Linked DNA regions of Homo sapiens: all the other regions are linked to region 5. Evidence: promoter capture Hi-C in 16 types of primary human blood cells and fetal thymus (Javierre and others, 2016). All regions are on one chromosome and are shown on one strand. The core of a region is centred on a gene start or on the middle of the fragment in contact, and the rest is flanking DNA. Distances in the headings are between cores, read along the strand shown. Region 1 overlaps TUG1 (taurine up-regulated 1). Region 2 overlaps PATZ1 (POZ/BTB and AT hook containing zinc finger 1). Region 3 overlaps DRG1 (developmentally regulated GTP binding protein 1). Region 4 overlaps PIK3IP1 (phosphoinositide-3-kinase interacting protein 1). Region 5 holds the start of YWHAH (tyrosine 3-monooxygenase/tryptophan 5-monooxygenase activation protein eta).

The links. Contacts are between HindIII fragments. The CHiCAGO score rates a contact against its expected background, and 5 or more counts as called.
Region 1: a contact is called between a fragment that was not itself captured here and the fragment with the promoter of YWHAH in region 5, in 1 of 17 cell types (neutrophils). The highest score is 6.5, in neutrophils.
Region 2: a contact is called between a fragment that was not itself captured here and the fragment with the promoter of YWHAH in region 5, in 2 of 17 cell types (neutrophils and fetal thymus). The highest score is 5.9, in neutrophils.
Region 3: a fragment that was not itself captured here is called in contact with the fragment with the promoter of YWHAH in region 5 in 1 of 17 cell types (fetal thymus); the score reaches 8.0 in fetal thymus.
Region 4: a contact is called between a fragment that was not itself captured here and the fragment with the promoter of YWHAH in region 5, in 1 of 17 cell types (fetal thymus). The highest score is 5.0, in fetal thymus.

Annotation. Positions count from the first base shown.
Region 1 is chr22:30,973,829-30,976,528 of GRCh38, forward strand. It overlaps TUG1 (taurine up-regulated 1), which reads left to right. Exons shown (of 3, transcript NM_001396518.1): 3 at 1,342-2,700. Among named protein-coding and RNA genes, the nearest start is that of TUG1, 5.9 kb to the left of the region's middle. The HindIII fragment of the contact is 1,850 bases long and covers 380-2,229 here.
Region 2 is chr22:31,340,464-31,343,163 of GRCh38, forward strand. PATZ1 (POZ/BTB and AT hook containing zinc finger 1) reads right to left here. Exons shown (of 5, transcript NM_014323.3): 2 at 2,434-2,497. Among named protein-coding and RNA genes, the nearest start is that of PATZ1, 4.5 kb to the right of the region's middle. RefSeq lists enhancers at 1-528, 2,204-2,700. The HindIII fragment of the contact is 3,977 bases long and covers 1-2,700 here.
Region 3 is chr22:31,401,173-31,403,872 of GRCh38, forward strand. DRG1 (developmentally regulated GTP binding protein 1) reads left to right here. Exons shown (of 9, transcript NM_004147.4): 3 at 1,857-2,032. Among named protein-coding and RNA genes, the nearest start is that of DRG1, 2.9 kb to the left of the region's middle. The HindIII fragment of the contact is 3,534 bases long and covers 1-2,700 here.
Region 4 is chr22:31,287,883-31,290,582 of GRCh38, forward strand. It overlaps PIK3IP1 (phosphoinositide-3-kinase interacting protein 1), which reads right to left. Exons shown (of 6, transcript NM_052880.5): 4 at 1,617-1,817; 5 at 1,433-1,511. Among named protein-coding and RNA genes, the nearest start is that of PIK3IP1, 3.3 kb to the right of the region's middle. RefSeq lists enhancers at 1,402-1,451, 2,599-2,700. The HindIII fragment of the contact is 5,705 bases long and covers 1-2,700 here.
Region 5 is chr22:31,943,105-31,945,804 of GRCh38, forward strand. It overlaps YWHAH (tyrosine 3-monooxygenase/tryptophan 5-monooxygenase activation protein eta), which reads left to right and starts at 1,431. Exons shown (of 2, transcript NM_003405.4): 1 at 1,431-1,716. The coding sequence starts at 1,630. It overlaps YWHAH-AS1 (YWHAH antisense RNA 1), which reads right to left and starts at 2,262. Exons shown (of 3, transcript NR_171018.1): 1 at 2,129-2,262. It overlaps LOC124900477 (a long non-coding RNA gene), which reads left to right and starts at 1,730. Exons shown (of 3, transcript XR_007068065.1): 1 at 1,730-2,131; 2 at 2,396-2,574. RefSeq lists enhancers at 1-750, 751-1,608, 2,352-2,401 and silencers at 872-1,021, 1,302-1,391, 1,402-1,621, 1,692-2,031. The HindIII fragment of the contact is 4,478 bases long and covers 1-2,700 here.

The DNA of each region.
Region 1 (2,700 bases), core at 55-2,554, 970 kb before region 5:
ACAGTGTTAAAATGGCTGGGTATTGGGAACCTCAGGAAATTTTCCAGCTTCCTGATCTGGTGCCCCTAGTCACATAGGATGTGTGATCACGTGATAGCTACATCTGGACCAGAATCCCATGGCAATATCCCACGGTTTAAGGGCATAATATCTCCGTGGTGGTAGATTGTCAAGTCAAAAACGGGACATGTTCTAACAGCAAAGCTACCCAATATGAAACACAAAGCTACTTTTAGATTTTTTAAGACTTACTGATATTCCTGGGCCCTAAGAGCTTGTCTATGGTCCTATCTTTGCAAACTAGTATTTACACAAAATGAGCCACCTGGTTTTTTTAAAGTCAGTATTGTGTGTGTGTGTGTAAATATGACATGGAGAAAGCTTCTGTTACCTAGTAAGATAGTAAAGTATGTAAGACATGGCCCTTCCCCCAGTCTACATTGAGGTATAGTGTATTAAAGGATCTCAGGAGACTTGCAGCAAATTACTACTGCTTCTGTGCTTAAATTCAGAAGTCTGAAAAAAAAAAAAAAAGACTTCTAGTAAAGAGTTCCATTTTGCTGTTTAACCCTTTGTGTCCTAAGTTTAATCAAACACAGAAGGATATTTTTTTGCATCATTCCATCTAATGGAATGCAGAAACTGCTCTAGAGCAGTATAACCAGTGCTTCCTGATTGCCAGCAGATTGCCCTGGACACCCCAGAATAAACAGCATCTTCAAAATCCCCCTTTCTCATACCTTCTTATTAATGGTTGAATTAGTATGTCTCTGTCATCTGAGAGTCTTGCATCTTGACCATTACCTTTATTTTCTGTCAAGGGAATCCCTAGAAGATGTATGGGGAGACATAGGAAAGGAATGGAAGAAAGTTAATTCACCCCAAATTGGATAAATTCCATGACATTTAGCAATATACTTCTGTATCCCTAGAATTGTATCATAACTTTAGTTCAAGGACATTGCATCTCAGGTGGGTTAAGGAGGTTGGGAAGGGGAGAAAAGGGATGAGGAGATATTTTCTTGAGATTTATCTCCTTGAGATAATGCTTGAGAAGTCATCCAGCCATGGACTTCTTGGAGTAATACTTACAAAGAATTGGATGCATTTTGCATCCTTAGGCAAAAACCCCAGTGCTGTTACAACTGAAAATCATTAGCCTTGTTCTCTGATAGATACTTACAAGCCCAACTGCAGGCAATCAAAATTTATAGCAGATGAGTTCTAACTCCATCAACCTGTAATGTGGTCCATCTTAGGGAAAGAATAGGAAAACACCTTGGTTTACCACAGGCTTTGCTTACAGTTTCTGCTTTCTGTGACCTATTTTTTGTATTTCAGCATTTTGTGACCGACTTATTCTTAGATCATTGGTTTTCCAAAGGCTTTGTGGCCATGAAGCCCTTTGAGTGAAAACTGTGCAGAAGCCCAGAGTAAAAGTGAAGCTGCTCTGGATGAAGTAGTGAAGCAAGAGTAGGGGCCTGAATCCTGCTACAACTATCTTCCTTTACCACCGTGGTGACACCTAAGGGGACTTCCTTACAACACCTTGAACTCTTCCGAACACAGTTTGAAAACCACTGCCCCAGACAGCAATATGTTTGACCTGAATGGCATTCCAATCTTTTCTGTACCTCCACTCAGCACAGTTCATGTTCAGTAGATGCTGAACATTCTTAGAAATACTGTGTGTGAACTTAGAAAAGTGCAAGAAGACAGGCATGTCTTTGACCCCAGGAATGATCATTTGCTGAAGATGGTGTCAAGTGAACCTAGATTAACAGCCCTCCACTCCAGATGGATATCCAGTGATTCCTAGAATGGGATATAGCCAGAGAACAATTCTATGCACCCTACACTGACAGACTCCCTTAAGCAACACCAGATGCTCTACTGGTACTTGAAGTACATGACTTTGAAGTCTTGACCCTCCATGAATACCTGAATTATCAGCAAGCGGGTTTTGAAGCTGGTGCCTCATTGAGGCCATATTAGAGCAACTTGTACATTTGACCTCTTGTTATCAGCCATGGTACTCTACTTCGTGTGCAAGAGATAACTATGAAAGCCAAATTCAAATACTGGCAACATTTCCTAAAGGGGCTCAATATCTATCATTCGTCTTCTTTTCCAAACTACACATCACTGTATGACTCAACCAGTAGCAGTTATATTGCCCCTTGGTTTTTATTCAGTTTAACTACTGTTTCCAAGATAAATGAGCTAATAAGCTTTAAAAAAAAAAAAAAAAAAGGCTGAATTCTTTTTTCTTCATCACTGGCATATCTGCCTATTCTCCAGAATTATTATGACTATTCAGCTCACTTTAACAGTTGAACTTCAAGCGACAATCTTTGAACACCCCTTCTCATGTGATTTAAAATGAAACCATTTGGAAAAGTTTCTTCTAGCCAGTAATAGATTTTTTTTTTAATTGCTCTGCCTTGTGCCGAGAGATGTTCTTTTAAGATGAATCTTTTGATGTCTGATACCACCAAATATAGGTGGTAGGGAGAGTTGGAGGCTGGCCCTTTGAGCAGGCCATTAGCTTACTTGCTGGGCATTTCCGATAGCTTATTGCCTACCTTTTTGCTGGAAACAAACTGATTTGAAAAACAAAATCTATGAAGACTGCAGCTAAGGATTTTATCGGTAGACTTAAGAGCTTTTGTCCTTGTGGATATTTTAGTGGAACCACAT
Region 2 (2,700 bases), core at 73-2,572, 600 kb before region 5:
CACACCTGGCTGGCCAGCCCAGAGCAAGAGAGCCAGCATGTCTTCACCTGCTGGGTCCGTTAGGGGAGTTGTGGCTGTAGGGCTGGAGGAGGGGCCAGCAGGTCTGTGAGAGTGTATGTTGGGAGGGGCAGGGCAGGAGCGCATTTGTACACCAAGGGACAGTGATGTCAGTGTTATGACACAGACCAAGGACAAAACACACAAAGCCTCAAATGTTAGAATGAAAAATTTTATCATCACTCCTGTTCACCCCGCAGAGTCTGCGGAGTGCTAAAGGGCACACCAATAAGGATCCGAGGGAGGGGGTCTACATCTGCTTTTTCAGCCCCCAAAGCCATATATTGGGGTGGCCCAATATAAAGCTACTCATTAGTTTGGTTCCTGAGCAGACCTGCTAATAAACCTCAAAAACACAAAAGTCTACTTCACTAGCCAGAAATGAAAGCAGGATCTAGATCTGAGTGGGAAGGGCAGAGGGCAGCATGGGTTGACTCTAGTTGGAATTGTGCCAGTCTTCTCTGGAGGCCGACTCACTCGTGGAGTGGGGAAAGGGGTGGCCAGGCCCCAGTCTAGAAACCCCAGGCCTATGGGAAGTGATGCCAGGGGAAGGGAAGCAGATAAGCTGGTGGCTAGTTCCCAGGAAGGCACCAACCTCCAAAATCACCTAGGCAAGGACAGATGCCCAGGGGTGCCATCTGTGAAAGGGGGGAAAAGGCAAGAGAGCCCAGAAAGAAACTTGGATGCTATAGGGGGTTCCAGAAAGGTGCTCCTTGCTACCCCCATTTGGGGGCTCTGACATGGGAAAGACTCCGAGTCACCCAGGGAGGAGCTGGGCATGCTGGGCAGGAACCACCCTGCTAGCCTCTCCCAAAAGCAGGGGTCTCAGGCCAAATGCCCCTCCTGTTCCCTTCCACTGTCAACCCTCTCCAGGGAGGCCCAGGCTAGCCAACAGGCCACTGGGTAAAGGCCCTGCTGCCCTCTGGGGTGGTCCAGCCCTGCCTCAGATATCCCGGCGGGGCTGGGCAGAAGAGAGTGTTGCTGGAGTGTGCTGGGCCCAGGTTTTCAAGGGCTGGGAATGATTTTTTTAGAGAAAGGGAAAAGGCGGTGTCAGGAACCGAATGGGACGACCTCCACAAAGCAGGCTGGGCAAAGTCCCATGATGGCAGGTCGCTAGGAAGAGGTTCCAGGGGCGGCAGGCCGCTGCTGCTCCCAACCCACACCTGGAAAAAGGGCAGAGAGTGCAGGTTACCCCCCCAGGCCACCGGGCTTGCCCCCACTGCCCTCTGGGCTCCTCCTACTCTGCCCGGGCTAATCAGCACACTACCTGAGTCAGAATGTGCTCTGTGATGAGAGAATCAGAGACAGAGAGAGAGAAGGCAGCAAGGCAAAGACAGATCCCAGCAGGCCCACCCTGGGTCATCCTCCAGGGAGACTGCCTAGCCCAGCACCTGTGAACACCGTCCACGCCTGACCCCCAGGGGCTCTGCCCTACTTACGGCACATTCATCCCTCCCTGCTGGTCTCCCTGAACCCTCTCCCCTTGCCACCAACAGGATAAGGAGAAGCAGGTTATCCTATCAGAGACTGCAGTGCACACCCCACAATCATGGCTCGCCCTCACTTGATGGGAACTTGGCATGGGAGAGGGGAGATAACCAAGGAGAAGACAGAGGTGTGTTCGCTATCCACACAGGAAGGCTCAGTGGCCAGGAGAGGAAACTCAATCTTTTGGGTACCAGCAGGGCCCCCAGATATTGTTCAAGCAGGTAAACCAAGGGTGAGAATCTATCTGGTCCAGCGTTTCCTACCTGCTACTTTGCAAAGAGCTAAAAGAAGAAGAGCCCACTTTGCTCTCCAGTCCTCCAGAAACCCTGGCTTAGGATGGGTTAAACAGATGCCAGTGTGGGAGAGGGGACCACCCACTCCCTACCTCCTACCTCCCCCACTGCCTTGTGCCCTAAGCTGAGGGGACCCAGGAGGAGCTCTAACTGAGGTCAGAAAAGGGGAAGAGTGGTTGGCTGGACCACCAGGAGCCCTTTTAAAAAAACCTGCAGTCCCTACAAACTGCTGGAAACCAACAGTCAGGCCCAGCGCAGTGCCGGGTCTCCCAACACAACATCTGTGTGATACGGCCCACCATCCAAGGAGCCGGCAAACACCAGGAGAGGAAAGCCAAGCAACAGAGTGAAGGCAAAGACAGGGTGGGAACCAGGACCAAGCAACCAGGAAGGAGGAACGTCAGCTGTGGGGGAAGGGGGCCTGGGGGAAGAACAAAGGAGGAGAGCAGAGGGAGGGTGGAGGAACAGAGGGGAGGTGTGCAAAGCGGTGGGCGGTCAGCCGGGCCCCCGGCACACGCAGCGGCTGGCTCAAGGCTGCGACCGTGAGAACAGCATCATCTCCTTCAGCCCATCTCTGCCCTGACCCAGCCCCTACCTGACACTTGTGAGGCCGCTCAGAAGTGTGCACCTGCTTGATATGTCCGTTCAAGTGATCAGGCCTGGAAAAGAGAGAACCAAGAGGGACTTTAGAAACTTGGCCAGACCCCACCACACAGGCACATATGCATACGTGTGTACACACACACACACACTCACTGCTGGAAAGGACTCCCTCTCCCCAACCCCAGCATGACAAAGACAAAGTCACCACCCAGTTCTGGCTCCACAGGCCCAGGCCTCTCTGCCCTGGTTTTCTCTGGAG
Region 3 (2,700 bases), core at 32-2,531, 540 kb before region 5:
CTTTGGGAGGCTGAGGCGGGAGGATTGCTTGAGGCCAGGAGTTCGGAACCAGCAAAGCCCTGTCTCTATGGGCTTAGAAATGAGGGGTCCCCATAGGTATGAAAGAAGATGTACCAAAAAAAAAAAAAGGCTGGGTGCGGTGGCTCACGCCTGTAATCCTAGCACTTTGGGAGGCCAAGGCGTGGATCACGAGATCAGGAGTTCAAGACCAGCTTGGCCAGCATGGTGAAACCCCATCTCTACTAAAAATACAAAAATTAGCTGGGCATGGTGGCGCATGCCTGTAATCCCAGCTATTTGAGAGGCTGAGGCAGGAGAATTGCTTGAATCGGGACCCAGGAGGCAGAGGTAGCAGTGAGTGAGATTGTACCACTGCACTCCAGCCTGGGCTACAGAGCTAGACTCTGTCTCAAAAAAAAAAAAAAAAAAAAAAAGTATCCTAGCATGGTGGTGCATGTTTGTGGTCTCAGCTACTTGGGAGGCTGAGTTGGGAGGACTGCTTGAACCCAGGAGGTTGAGGCTGCAGTGAGTTGTGATGGCACCACTGCACTCCATCCTGGGTGATAGAGCGAGATCTCATCTTAAGAAAACCAAAGTAGGGCCAGGCGCGGTGGCTCACTCCTGTAATCCCAGCACTTCGGGAGGCCGAAGTGGGCAGATCACAGGTCAGGAGTTCGAGACTAGCCTGACCAACATGGTGAAACCCCGTCTCTGCTAAAAATACAAAAATTAGCTGGGCATGGTAGCACGAACCTGTAATCCCAGCTACTCAGGAGGCCGAGGCAGGAGAATCGCTTGAACCTGGGAGGTGGAAGTTGCAGTGAGCCGAGATCATGCCACTGTACCCCAGCCTGGGTGACAGAGCTAGACTCTGTCTCAAGAAAAAAAAAGAAAAAACAAAACCAAAGTAGATTTATATTGGCTTACAGAAATGTAAACCTATATCATCAACAAGATTAAAAATAAGTAAAAAAATTGATGCAAAGGGAAAACGTAGGAAAAATAAGTCGAAGCCAAGCGAGATAAGATTTAGGACTAAAAGGAATGGCGTAAGATCTGTGCACCTGGTAGAGAAGGGCCACAGATTTGACTCTGAACTTGTTGGCAGCCATTGTAAAAAGAAAAAAGAAAAAAAGAAAACCCAGTCAGTCATACAATTTACAGAATTTGAAAGACAAAAAAACAAAAACAAAACTCTTTTTAATTAATTAATTTGTTTATTTTAGTTATAAAAGGGCAGCTCCTCCATAGGCAGAGCAGGGCTACACCATAGGTAGAGTAGCTAACAACTCTATTTTTGGATCATTTTTCATACATATATTTGGGCTGTACCTTTTTTTTTTTTTTTTTTTTCGAGACAGGGTCTTGCTCTGTTGCCCAGGCTGGAGTACAGTGGTGTGATCACAGCTCACTGCAGCCTCAACCTCCTGGGCTCAAGCGATCCTCCCACCTCAGCCTCTGAAGTAGCTGAGACCTACAGGCATATGCCACCATGCCTGGCTAATTTTTGTATTTTTTGTAGAGACAGGGTTTTGCCATGTTGCTCAGGCTTGACCTGAATTCTTGGACTCAAGAGATCCTCCTGCCTCAGCCTCTGGAATAGCAGGGACTATAGATGTGTGCCACTGTGCCTGACTTTTTTGAATACAGTTTTTTTATATCAAACACTGCATTGAATTTTGTGAATTGCTGTGCCCTCAAGTTTTGTGTGCTTTAGTTCTCCTTTAAAGGTAAACCATAAAAAGTTTGAGAAATAGTGCCTAGAGGGATAGGCAGTAAAAATGTGAAAGAAGTTATATGAGTCTTAACACTCTGGGGGATAACTCTCCTCTTTTTGGTATTCATTGATGTTTTAGGTTTTGATGTGGCCAAGACAGGTGATGCTCGAATTGGATTTGTTGGTTTTCCATCTGTGGGGAAGTCAACACTGCTTAGTAACCTGGCAGGGGTATATTCTGAGGTGGCAGCCTATGAATTCACTACTCTGACCACTGTGCCTGGTGTCATCAGATACAAAGGTGCCAAGATCCAGGTGAGTCAAGCCTGCAGACTAAGGAAGGAAAGAAATCTATTCTTCATTTAGGAAGAAGTTTATTGGGAGCTCACTGTATGCCAGGCCTGATCTTTGATCTACCAGGCACTTACTACCTGGTAGGGGAAATAGAGCAGTACGATAATAAAATGGGATAGCGCATGTGAAAATGCAGAGAAAGGGCCGGGCGCAGTGGCTCACGCCTGTAATCCCAGCACTTTGGGAAGCCAAGGCGGGCAGATCACCTGAGGTCGGGAGTTCGAGACCAGCCTGGCCAACATGGAGAAACCCCATCTCTACTAAAAATACAAAATTAGCCGGGTGTAGTGGCACATGCCTGTAATCCCAGCAACTCGGGAGGCTGAGGCTGGAGAATCGCTTGAACTACTTTTTCACCTGAGGGTGGGGGCTGGGACTACAGGTGAGCACCACCATGCCGGGCTAATTTTTTGTATTTTTAGTAGAAATGGGGTTTCACCATGCTGGTCAGGCTGGTCTCGAACTCCTGACCTTGTGATCCGCCCGCGTTGGCCTCCCAAAATGCGGGATTACAGGTGTGAGCCACCGCGCCCGGCCCCCTGGTTGTATTTTTAATGACCCTTTTTCCAGCTGGTCAGGTGCCCATGCAGAGACACATGTCCCTTTCTGGGATCCCGTGTCCAAATGTA
Region 4 (2,700 bases), core at 160-2,659, 660 kb before region 5:
TTTACCTCATAAGGGTGATTATGAGTTAAAGCATGTGCTTCAAGCAGTGTCTGGCATACGGTACATGTTTGCTACTGCTGTTATTATTATACCCAAACTTCCCCTTTTTCATCTGTAATGAGGAGGTTGACTACAAGGCCTTTAAAGATGCCCTGCTGGGTGATCCACTGAGGCTGTGGGCTCAGACATGGCCCTCATCACTGGAAAATGCAGGCTGCATGCCAGGCATGGTGGTTCATGCCTATACACTTTGGGAGGCTGAGGTAGGAGGACTGCTTGAGCCCAGGAGTTTGAGACTAGCCTGGGCAACACAGTGAGACCCTGTCTCTATAAAAAAATTAAAAATCAGCCAGGCATGGTGGGACATGCCTGTAGTCCCAGCTACTCAGTGGGGGTGGGTGGGGGTAATTACTTGCGCCCTGGGAGGTTGAGGCTGCAGTGAGCCGTGATCGCACCACTGCACTCAAGCCTAGGCAATAGAGCGAGACCCTGAAAAAAAAAAATCAAAGAAAGGAAGGAAAGAAAGGGGAAGGAAGGAAGGGAGGGAGGGAGGGAGGAAAGGAAGGAAAAATGCAGGCTACTGTGTCACTTTCCTCACAGGAAGTTTTCTCAGACCACAGAGGAGAATATTACAGACACCCAGGGCTAGAAGTCAAATCCCCCGATTTTGCCCAAGAATGGCAAATAATTTTCCACAATCAGCCAGTGCTGTAAAGATGAATGCCAGTCTGGCTTACCATCATGCACCAGTCACTGACGGACATCTCGTGGGACCTTTCAAAATAAGCATTCTTCTCCTGCTGTCCCAGCCACAGGTCATGTCCTTGAGTTTCACAAGTAGCCTCTTTGGCTTTCTCACACGTGGTGAAGAGTGGCAAACAGACTTTCTGTTCTCCAACTCACTTTTTTCTTCCCTAGCAGAGGAGATCCCACTGCTTATAGCTCAGGAAATTTAAGCCTCAACTGCAACAGTGGCTGGAAACCTTTTCTAGTAGCAGAATTTTATAACTCACAGAAAGAATTTGGTCTTAAGGTCCCTGCAATCAGTGTCAAGCCTGATTTCTGCAGTGCCACTCACTTCAATGCCAGGCATGTGGGATCAGACAGCAGGGAATTTGCTATCAAAAGAGCTGGGTCTGAATCCAGGTTCTGCCACTCCTAGGCTATGTGACTTTGAGCAAGTCTCTGACAGAGGCTTCTTCATTTGTAAAATGCGGAACAAGAACATCCCTCACAAGGCTTTTAAGTGAGGTGTAAAGGCACCAAAGGAAAGGGTTTGTCCAAGGTCAGCAGATAAAGACTAGGACCAAGTCTCTACATCTTGAGCTGATTTTCAACATCTTGCTTCCTTTTGGGTAAGAAAGCCACAAAGTTTGACTTTGTGTACCTTCCTCCCCTCCTCCTAAGAGGGCCCAGAAGAGAAGCTACTGACCTCTTGTAGGAGTAGCCCAAGATGATGCCAGCTCCGATGGCAATGATGATCACCATCATGGTAATGCCCAGCACGTAGCCTGCCAAGGATAGGACACAAGGTCCCATTAGCCACACCCTAGACAATCAGCAAATGACATCTCTTGATGAATCCCAACGAGGGCAGGGGTGGGGGACCGTCATACCCAGAGTTCCCAGGTCCTTTTTCTCCTTGGAGTTCATCCGCACCCGCTGGCTGATCCCAATCACTGGCTGCACAGCTGCCGCCTCACTCCGAGCGGGCAGGGCGTTGGCAGGAGCGAACACCTGCACCTCATCTGCACCTGGCCCTTCAGACGCTTCCTGGATTTCTGTCGTGAAGGCTGGCAGGGCCTGGGAGGTGGTCTCTGGAGATGAGGTGGGAAACAGCTCTCATCAGGGACTGCCCTGAGTGAATTCCACAGCTGAACCTGGCCTGAGTGTTAGGGTAGATGAAGGTGGGTCACCTAAGAATTTCCCCCCACACACAACCCAAAGTCAAATTCTGCCCCAGAGGTAAGATCAGGCCTGAGAGGGCTGAACCATCTCAGGGACAAGGCAAATGAGAGAGGAAGGCCGTAGGGAAGGGCTTCTCTCCTACCTCCCACGTCTTTATCTGTCCAAATCCTTGCTATTTCCCAAGGCCCCTCTCGGTTGCGTTCTTCTGCAGGGGATTCCCCCCACTTCTACTTCAGGAAACAACCCATGCTTCCTTTGAGCAGCTCACATCTAAGCGTACGCTCTGTGCCAGTCCTTAGGTAAAATGTTTTACTTTGTGCCGGGAGCGGTGGCTCACGCCTGTAATCCCAGCACTTTGGGAGGCCAGACGGTCGGATCACCTGAGGTCAGGAGTTAGAGAGCAGCCCGGCCAACATGGTGAAACCCCGTCTCTACTAAAAATACAAAAATTAGCTGGGCGTGGTGGTGCACGCCTGTTATCCCAGCTACTCAAGCGGCTGAGGCAGGAGAATCACTGTAACGCGGAAGGCGGAAGTTGCAGTGAGCCGAAATTGCGCCACTGCACTCCAGCCTGGGTGACAGAACGAGACTCCGTCTCAAAAAATAAAAAATAAAAAATAAATGCTTTATTTTGATTATCCCATTTAAACCTAGAAAACTCTCTTGCTGCTTTGGGAGCAAAAAGCCTGCGCTCTGGAATCTAAGAAACGTGAATTCAAATCTGTCCCCTGCCATTGCCTTTGGTAAATCGCTTAACTTCTCTGAAGCTCAGATGCCTCAAACGACTTCTTC
Region 5 (2,700 bases), core at 181-2,680:
CCAGAAAAGGCCTGGTCTCCAGTTCCCTCCCTTCTCCCTTCGAACATGTCTTACTCTCTAGAGCAAGATTCCAGGCCTGAAATATGGCTTCCCAATTACCTAAGGATGAAGCCTCAAATCTTTGGCCTGGCATTTAAAAGACTCCGTAATCTTGTTTTACCCAACCTCACTTCCCATTCTTAGGCCTCTCTTCTCACCATCTCCCAGGTCACTGCCAAGCCTTTGCCAATGCTGTACCCCAGGCCTTAATCTTTTTCCTGACTCTCCTTCAAGATCCAGCTTATCCCTGTGGGCTGAGCATGCAGTAGATGCTCAATAAAATTCTCAGCGAGCCCAAGGCCCCCTCTCCTGCACTGCCCTTGGCGTGTTGAAATCAAGTGGGGGCCTTGTTTTAATCATCATTTTCCTAGCTTGTCGGGCAGCCCAGTCCAGGGCCTGGCACAAGGGACCCTCAGCATCCAATACCAGCCAGGATTGGGAGGGGCTCAGTGACCAGCCAGTTGGGCCACCCCAGCTCTTTGCCACAAGAGAAAGTTCAGCCTGGGTTTGGACTCAGATCCTGGCCCCACCACTTACAGGCTGCGTAACCCTGAGCAAGTCACTAACCTCGCTTTTCCTCAGGTTCCACGTTTTAAATATGGGGAGACCAGCTGTGCCCACTGTGGGCTGGGTAGTGAGGATTAAAGAGGAGGATGCTTGTACGGGACTAGCACTGGGCTGGCTCCTAATGTGTCCTGAATATTACTTGTCCCGCCCTGGCCACCCAGTCCCCTCCTCTGGTGGAAGGCACAGCCTGCCCAAGGCTACGTCTCAGGTTGGGTTCGATTGTGTGTGTCTGTGTAGCGGGGCTGTCCCCGAGGGTCGGACTCGATCCTGCCCGGACCAGTACAAGGTGTGGCCCAGCAGAACGCATGGACAGGCAGGGCTCGGGGCGGGCGGGACGGCTGGGGCGGGGCTGGGCGGACCCGCCCCTCGGGGCACGCGGTCTCCCGGCTTCTCCGCCAGTATGTTTGCTTGCTTTTGGGGCCCTTCTCAAGCCAGATCTCTAACGTGGATGGAGTGGCGCGTTTCAGGGTGGGGCTATGACAATGCACTGCCTGTGCAGCCGCCATCACCGCGCCCCCTCCACCGGCTCCGCAGTCTCCTGCCCGGCTTTCCCTTCTCCACCTCCATCTCTGCGGCGGTAAAATGCAGCACTCGCAGAGCGCCTGCGCGGCTTTCAGGCCGGGCGGCGGCGGCGGCGGTGGCTATTTATAGTAGGTGACGTCACCTTGAAATAGACCGTTAGGGCCGGCCCGCCCTTCCCCCCTCCCACTCCCGCCGCTCCCCGCCGCCCGGCCTGGCCACTCTCACTGCGCAGGCGTCGTCCCGTCCTCCCATCCCCCAGCGCGGCCGCGTCTCCTCCCTCGGCGTTGTCCGCGGCGCGAGCCACAGCGCGCGGGGCGAGCCAGCGAGAGGGCGCGAGCGGCGGCGCTGCCTGCAGCCTGCAGCCTGCAGCCTCCGGCCGGCCGGCGAGCCAGTGCGCGTGCGCGGCGGCGGCCTCCGCAGCGACCGGGGAGCGGACTGACCGGCGGGAGGGCTAGCGAGCCAGCGGTGTGAGGCGCGAGGCGAGGCCGAGCCGCGAGCGACATGGGGGACCGGGAGCAGCTGCTGCAGCGGGCGCGGCTGGCCGAGCAGGCGGAGCGCTACGACGACATGGCCTCCGCTATGAAGGCGGTGAGCGCGCCGGGAGCCCGGGCGGCTGGCCGGGGGGGGCCTGGCGTTGGGGAGGGACGGGGATGGCCGCGGGCGCGTTCCCCTCCCGGCCATGGGCGACCCGGCGACCCGGCTGGGCGTGGCCGCCCGCCCGCCCTTAGCCCGCGCTTCCCGCTCCCGCTGGGCGCCCCGCCACTTCCTGAGGCTGGGCCCAGGGTGGGGGATCCGGGAGGGTGCAGTTCGGGATCGCGAAGGCAGCCCCGGAAGGGGGGCGGGCCGGTCGGGGTCGCCACATCTTAGTTCGGAACCCGGCCGGGGGCAGAGGGTGCCCTAGGGGACGCGAAGGAGCCGCATTTCTCCTAGAGCGTTTCACCGGACCCGGGGGCTCCCCCTCTCGTCTTCCTCCGTTCCCCAACTTGGAATAAAGAATCACCTAGTAAGTGGCGCCCTGTCTCAGCTGGTTTTCTCTGCCACGACCTGAAGTCTGCAATTCCGATCTGTTTTGCTCTGCTCGTTCGAATTGTTCTGGTTCCATCTTCCCACGCCTGGGGGTCTGGCTTTGTGTGCGAAGACCCCTTTCCTGCAGTCTAGGCGTGGACGGGGGCGGGAGAGTGGGCGGAGGGTGTGGGGCCCCACTCCACAGCCCCAGGTTTGCTGCTGCGCTGTCTGCTTGGAGATTAAAATGAAACGTGACTTCTAGGTGAGACGAATCTGTGTGTCTTTGCATTCCTGAGACCCTCATAAATCGATTCTGCAGCTTCTCCGGTGGATGAGTCGTGCCCAGCCACACCCTAGCAAAATACCGTGGGTCACACACCACCTGCATTTCTGAGTTCCGGTTACCATCTCACTCTCTCTCCACGTTATTTTACGTTTTCTGTAAATGAATATTTCCTCTCCCTGCGTCAAGGTCACACAGTGGTAGAACAACTGCGACCACCAACCTATGTTCAGTGTACAACCTCCTGAGACCTGGGAGGATCCCCTTGAACTCCGCCTTAGACC